Regions from separate parts of the Homo sapiens genome. Here region 2 is linked to region 1. The links are contacts of gene promoters, found by promoter capture Hi-C in human tissues and cell types (Jung and others, 2019). All regions are on one chromosome and are shown on one strand. Each heading gives the region's core, a stretch centred on a gene start or on the middle of the fragment in contact. The rest is flanking DNA. Distances are from core to core; before and after follow the strand shown.

Region 1 (3,510 bases), core at 117-2,616:
TTTTAAAAGTTTTTAGAATTAAAAGTCAGGATGCAGAGATTTCTCTTTTAGGCCCCAAATTAATCGAAAAAATATTTCACTAGTATATTTGCTTCAGAGAAATAGAAGTGAACTTTCACAAGTCATTAATCTATTGCTCAAAATAAAATGATCACACACAAACCGAAAATCAAAGCTTCAAACATACACACACCGAAAATCAAAGCTTCAAACCAATCTTTAGCGGCTGCATATCACTAGTTGCCTGGGGTTGGGAGAGAATGACTGCAAAGGGAAAGGAAGCTTTTTAGAATGATGGAAATGGTTTATGTCTTAACATGGATGAATACATTTTTCAAAACTCATCAAAATGTACATTTTAGATAGGCACAATTTACGTATGTACATTACACCTCAATAAAGTTTTAAATATTTAGAAGTCTATCCTGTTTCCTTAAAAAAAAAATTAGTTGCACCATGGTCTCAAAAATAATTTTTAAAATGAGATGTAATGCAACAGACTTGAAGATTAAATAAAACAGTCTTGAATATTTAAGAAAAATGACAAAACATGAGTCAAAAACAAAAAAAAAGGGTTGATTTATGAGTTTCTGGCCTCAAGGTCAACTCAGATTAGGGGGAAAAAAAAACAGTGGAGGCATAATCAAGATGGGGAAGCGTGTGGAGAGAAATCTCAGCTTCTACTCTAGAAGACGAAAACCAAAACCGGTATTACTTCAGAAGGCACACTGGAAAAGCACAGATGTGGGTGCACTTCAGACCTAGGTTCAACGGATCTAAGCTGCTAACTCTATGGCCCTGAGAGTCCTCAACCTGTGAGCCTCAGTTTCCCTTTCTGTAAAATAAAGATAATGATGGCTTAGAGTTTAGCTGAGCACACAGCAAATGCTCGACACATAAGTAATACATGATATTACATAAGGCACCAGAACTCGGAGCTGACTGGAAATGCATGCAAACTAAAGCCCTCCCCCAATCCCACCCCAGTTTCCCTCTGAGGGTCGTGATCCCTTTCTTACGCCTTATCGCCCCCAGCCAAGCCTCCCTTCCTTCCCACATACACTCCACACAGCCTTTTCACCCCTCGCCCCAGCAGCTTCAGAGGCCTCCCACCTCCCAGGCCCCACCTCGTTGAGGAAGCGGGTGACATCGTAGACTCGCCCATGGATCACAAGCCACAGTTCCTTCAAGGAGTTGCGCTTTGCCACCTCCTCCAACCGGTAATAGGTGACTGAGGTCTCGACTTCCTGCCCTTTCCCATCGCTGCCGCTAGCTTCCGCAGTCGCCATTGAACCGGACATACTGCCTCTCCACCGCTAACTGAGATTCCGCGACTACTTTCCTTGAGAGCCCGCGCTCAGCCTTCCTCGGCTTCCGTAACCAGGGCCCATAAGGCCTTGAGACGGTTCCTAGCAACAGCCAATCACACTTCCGAATAGTTCCTGGTTCGTTTTCTTTTCACCAATGAAGGGAGTGGCTCAGTTCGAAATCCCGCCCACTCCTCGCCCGATCCTCCAGATGAAAGTCTGGTTCGAGGTCCAACTAACCAATTAGGGTCGTTCAGCCCCCTCCAACCTCGCCAATCAGATACCGCGATTTTTGGACTGGCGCCCAAAAGAGGCGTGCTGACAGGTGTCACTTCAGGAGAGGTACCACTTCTCTCAGCCTGTGGGCCTTTAGGGTCTCCAGTGTTCTGCTTCCCTTCCCATCGCTGTGGCTTTCTCCTGAGTCTCAGAAAGTTCCTATCCCCTACACTACCGGCGCAGCCTGTATCCCAACCCTGATTTTACATCTTTGCTGCCTCCAGGTCGTGATCTGGCCAATCCCGTCTCTCCTCAATTTCCCCATCAGTAAAATGGGCTTGATAAAGCACTCTCTTACAGAGGGGTTTGCCTTTTTTTTTTTTTTTTTTTTTTTTGAGACAAGTTCTCGCTCTGTCTCCTAGGCCAGAGTGCAGTGGCACGATCTCGGCTTACTGCAAACTCCGCCTCCCAGGTTCAAGCGATTCTCCTACCTCAGCCTCTCGACTAGCTGGAACTACAGGCATGCGCCACCACGCCCGGCTAATTTTTGTATTTTTAGTAGAGAGTAGGTTTCACCATGTTGGCCAGGCTGGTCTCGAACTCCTGACCTCAGGTGATCCGCCTGCGTAGGCCTCCCAAAGTGCTGGGATTACAGGCGTGAGCCACCGCGCCTGGCCCGGTTTGCCTATTTTAATGAGAGTGCCTGTAAAGCGCTTGGCGCATAGTAATCGCTAAACATGGCAGTCGATTAGAAAGGCAATTGCTGTCCCGGACAGCAATTGGGGGTAGAATGTGGAGTATCCTATGTTTCTACCATCATTCAGAATCCGATTTTCAAACGAATTCTGTGATGATCAGGATCAATCGGCACTATTTTAGTCTCTACGTGATCTAAAATAGAATTGAACTCAACTGCTCTCCGCTAGAGGTCCCAGCACTTTGGAATTCCAAGTTTGGTTAAGGTACAGTGTTGTGCGCCACTTTTTAACTGCCATTACAACTGACAGATTGCTCTTCCTATGATGTCGTCGTTTTCATCCTGTCACTCTCGCAGTCTACCATTCAGGGCTCTCCACAATCCATTCGCAACCTCTTTCACTAACGTATAATATTTTCCACCATTCCCTTTATAAGCCTGTTGCACCCGCCCCGACTCTGAAACCTGCTGGTTTAAAACCACATCCGTGGTCATCCCAGGTCCACCAAGTTAATTTTAGATCACTTAGAGACTAAAATAGTGCAGATTGATCCTGATCATCACAGAATTCATTTGAAAATCGGATTCTGAATGGTGGTAGAAACATGGGATACTCCACATTCTACCCTCAATTGCTGTCCCAAGGACTCCTCTTCCTTTCAATGCCTACCGGCTTTTCAAGTTCCTCTTCAGTTTCTTCTATTTTCAAACTTCTCCTACCGTTTTGAGCTCCAGTGCTTCCATCCCTTTGTAGTACCTAAGAAAGCATATTACTATTTTGGGAAGCCTGCTACGTCTGTAAATTTTAACTTTACGTATTTTACCTCCCTAGTTAGACTGACACTATGAGAGCAATCTCACAAGATTCTTAGGATCCTCCACAAACTCTAGATTCAAATATTTACATTTATTCCAGACATTTACTATTTACTGTTACAAGTCTTATGATAGGCATTGGGAGTAGAGAGATAACATAAGAAACAAAATCTCTGAAAGAAATAAAAACATTTACAGGCTGAATGTGGTGGCTCAAGCCCCGTAATTCCAGCACTTTGGGAGGCCGAGGTGGACAGATCACTTGAGCCCAGGAGTTCAAGACCAGGCTGGGCAACATAGTGAGGCTCTTGTCTCTTCAAAAAATACAAAAATTATCTACGCATGGTGGCACACAACTGTAATCCCAGATATTTGAGAGGCTGAGATCTGGGGATGGCTTGAGCCTGGGAAGTCGAGGCTGCAGTGATGTATGATCGCACCACTGTGCTCCAGCCTGGATGACAGAGCGAAACC
Region 2 (3,634 bases), core at 455-2,954, 57 kb before region 1:
GCAATCTTGGCTCACTGCAACCTCCACCTCCCAGGTTTAAATGATTCTCCTGCCTCAGCCTCCCGAGTAGCTGGGATTACAGGCACCTGACACCACGCCCAGCTAATTTTTTAATTTTTTAGTAGAGACGGGGTTTCGCCATGTTGGCCAGGCTGGTTTCGAACTCCTGACCTCAGGTGATCCACCCATGTTGGCCTCCCAAAGTACTGGGATTACAGGTGTGAGCCACCATGCCCAGCCTATTTTTTAAAATTTTTTAAAGTTTAAATAAAATTTAACAAATAAAAATTTAATTTGGGGCATTTACATGTGTGAGTGTGTGTGTGTGTGTGTGTGAGTGTGTGTGTGTGAGAGTGTGTGTGTGTGTGTGTGTGTTTTAGAGAACTGGTCTGTAGTTTTTTATCAGGTTTGCAATAGGATCTGTGTCCCAAAAGGTTAAGAACCACAGTTCTGGAAGGCATGCAATTAGGCTAGCAAATCATCTCCATCCTAAACATGACCTGAACTGAAACAATCAAGAGAAAGGAAAAGTGCTTCATGCTCCAAAGAAAACAAAAGCCACTTCCAACAGGAATTGGCTGTCACATTCTCTGCACTTGGAAAAAAAAATCAACAGAGCATCCGCCCAGCCTGCCCAAGGCCCATCCCTTAAGCCCAGGTCCCCAGGGAAGGCAGTGAGCTTTTGTTTTCCAGTCTGTGGGCAACTGGCTGGGCAAAGAGCCAGTGGGGAGAGATCTCGATGGAAGAAAATACAGCGATGTGCCGAGTCGAGTGGGCTGGAAGCACCCGAAGGTGGGCCCTGGCTGATGCCGGGACAGAGATGCTGCGATGACCCATCGCAGGAGGAGCCATGTGCTGGCTGCTGCCTTCTCTCCTTCTCTCTTGACTTTGCTCCAGCCAGGATGTTGGGCCTGCTTTTCTCTCTTGGTGCTCCGGGCACCTCAGTATTAATCATGGGCCTCAGTGTTTTTCTAAGTAGATTTTTGGACCCTTCATGGTTGGCAAGTCCATGTTTCTCCCTGGGGCCACCCGTGCTATCAGATCAGAGCACCTGCCTATATTTAAGGTTGTGTCACGTTTGGTTTTCGGCGAACACTCCCTTCGCCTGGCCCTTCTTGCCTTTGTAAGAGAAGGACCTAGGACATGGCAAATGTCCCAGTGAACGCTGGAAGGAGCCCTGAGAGCAAGCGGGAGGGCCCGGAGCCAGCGTGCTGCGCCAGCACTCCGTGTAACCTCCAGGGAGGGCGCAGTCCACACATGTCCTGGCTTCCGAGAGGCAGGCCCTGGGTGTCAGCTCACAGCCATCCGCTCCAGCTCAGCCTCTCCAGCAGCCCCAGGGATTCTCACTGGGCCTGGAGTTGTTGTTTTTCTGTGTTTGCATATATGTCCTATCTTTACAGGAAACCAGGGGGATTCCTGGTTTCCTTCCCCAAATCTGTTTCTCCTCCAAGCTTTCTTATCTCAATAAACAGTGCCTTCATCACCCAGGTGCTCATCTTTCAGGTCCCAGCTGAAGCAGCACCTCCTCCTTGGAAAGATCCTCCCAAGCACCAGATCTGAAGTGACCCCATCACCCACCCACACACCAAGATACCCTCCTTCATGCCAGCCTGTTTGTTGATCACATTCTGTAATTATTTCATTTTTCTGTCTGTCTCCTCACTCAAAATGTAGAGCTGGCTGGGCACAGGGGCTCACGAATGTAGTCCCAGCACTTTGGGAGGCCGAGGTAGGTGGGAGGATCGCTTGAGCCCAGGGGTTTGAGACCAGCCTGGGCAATATAGTGAGACCCTGTCTCTACAAAAAAGAAAATTAAAAAATTAGCCTGAAGTGGTGGCATGGGCCTGTAGTCCCAGCTACTGGGGAGGCTGGGGTGGGAGGATCGCTTGAGCCCAGCAGGTCAAGGTTGCAGTGAGCTGTGATCACGCCACTGCACTCCAGCCTGGGCGACAGAGGAAGACCTTGCTCAAAAAATAAAAAAATAAAAAATAAAAAGTAGAGTCTATGAGGATGGGAACAGCTGGACATACTGTGTTTGTTTCTTTCGATTCACTCTCCAGCCCTCTCCCCTCCTGCCTACAGCTCAGGAGGCTGACCAATGGGGACTGTGCCTCGGGGGTCTCTGCAGACTCCTGGGTCGCCCACGCGCAGTTCCCATCCACGGAGGATCCCCAAGCTCCCAACTCCAAAGGCTTCCGGTTTGTGTCCCCTAAGGGGAGGCACAAGTAGGAGATGAGAGAGTGGAGGACAATGAGGCCAGGATGGCTCCCTCCCTGCTGTGGACCCTGCCCGCTCCCTCTGCTGCAACCCTTACCAGGCTCTAGTAACCACTTTCTCCCCTTGCCTGTCTGGGCAGTAACAGCTGCCATGTGTCACCAACCCTGAAATGCTTCACCATGCCTTCAACTAGTTCCTCTCTGCCCTGCACACATGGCTGCAAATGTCCCTTCATGAAACTCTCCTCAACGACCCTTTTTGAATGTGCCATTTGTTACCTGTCAGGAGCCTGGGGATGGTTCTGATCAATACTGGGGCCACGTCTGACTCATACAGTGTTTCCCAGCAACGTGCTGGGGAATGTCTGGCGTGTCTTAGGTACTTAATGCGTGTGTTTTGAATACATAAATCAATGATAAAGATATTGTGATTTTATTTACATTTTTATTAAGAAAGAATTTATGGGTCGGGTGTGGTGGCTCACACCTGTAATCCCAGCACTTTGGGAGGCCGAGGCAGGTGGATCACTTGAGGTCAGGAGTTTGAGACCAGCCTGGCCAACATGGGGAAACCCCGTCTCTACTAAAAATGCAAAAATTGTCTGGGCATGGTGATGTGCGCCTGTAGTCCCAGCCACTCAGGAGGCTGAGGTGGGAGGATGGTTTGAGCCCAGGAGGCGGAGGTTGCAGTAAGCTGAGATCGCATCACTGCACTCCAGTCTGGATGACAGAGCAGGACTCCATCTCAAAAAAAAAAAAAAAAAAAAGAATTTATGCACCACAAAATTCACCCTTTTAAAGTATACAATTTAGTGTTTTTCAGTGTATTCACAAACATATGAGATGAGACCATTACCACTGTCTAATTTCATCCCCTCAAAAAGGAACTCTGTGCCCTTTGGCAGTGACTCCCCACATCTCCCCTCCCCCTGCACCCGGAAACAACTTATCTACCTTCTGTCTCTATGAACTTGCCTATTTTGGACTTTTCATTCCAATGGAAGTTACAGTATGTGGTCATTTGTGTCTGGCTTCTTTCACTTAGGCACAGTATTCTTAAGGTTCACCCATGGTGGGGCATGTATCAATACTTGATTTCTTTTTATAGCTGAATAACATTCCAGTATATAGAGACAACACACTTTGTTTACCCATTCATCAGGTGATAGACGTTTGGGTCATTTCCGCCCCTTTGGGCTATTATGAGTAAGCTGCTATGAACATCGGCATACTTGTTTTTGTGTGAGCATGTTTTCAATACTCTTGGGTACATATCTAAGAGTGGAATTGCTGGGTCACATGGTAACTCTATGTTTAACTTTTTGAGGAAGCATACTGTGTTTTCCATGGGGCTACCCAGTACTTTCTTTATCCTGTGGTCCCAGTTATTGGCATCTGCATGGAAAAGAACCCAAACA

The links. Contacts are between HindIII fragments. The study calls those that stand out against the background at their distance.
Region 2: a contact is called between a fragment that was not itself captured here and the fragment with the promoter of CYB5B in region 1, in 4 of the 25 tissues and cell types used here (bladder, hippocampus, liver and 1 more).

What each region holds. Positions count from the first base shown.
Region 1 is chr16:69,422,475-69,425,984 of GRCh38, reverse strand. CYB5B (cytochrome b5 type B) reads right to left here and starts at 1,366. Exons shown (of 5, transcript NM_030579.3): 1 at 1,128-1,366. The coding sequence starts at 1,301. RefSeq lists enhancers at 988-1,535, 1,536-2,083. The HindIII fragment of the contact is 13,364 bases long and covers 1-3,510 here.
Region 2 is chr16:69,479,792-69,483,425 of GRCh38, reverse strand. No RefSeq gene overlaps it. Among named protein-coding and RNA genes, the nearest start is that of CYB5B, 57 kb to the right of the region's middle. The HindIII fragment of the contact is 7,934 bases long and covers 1-3,634 here.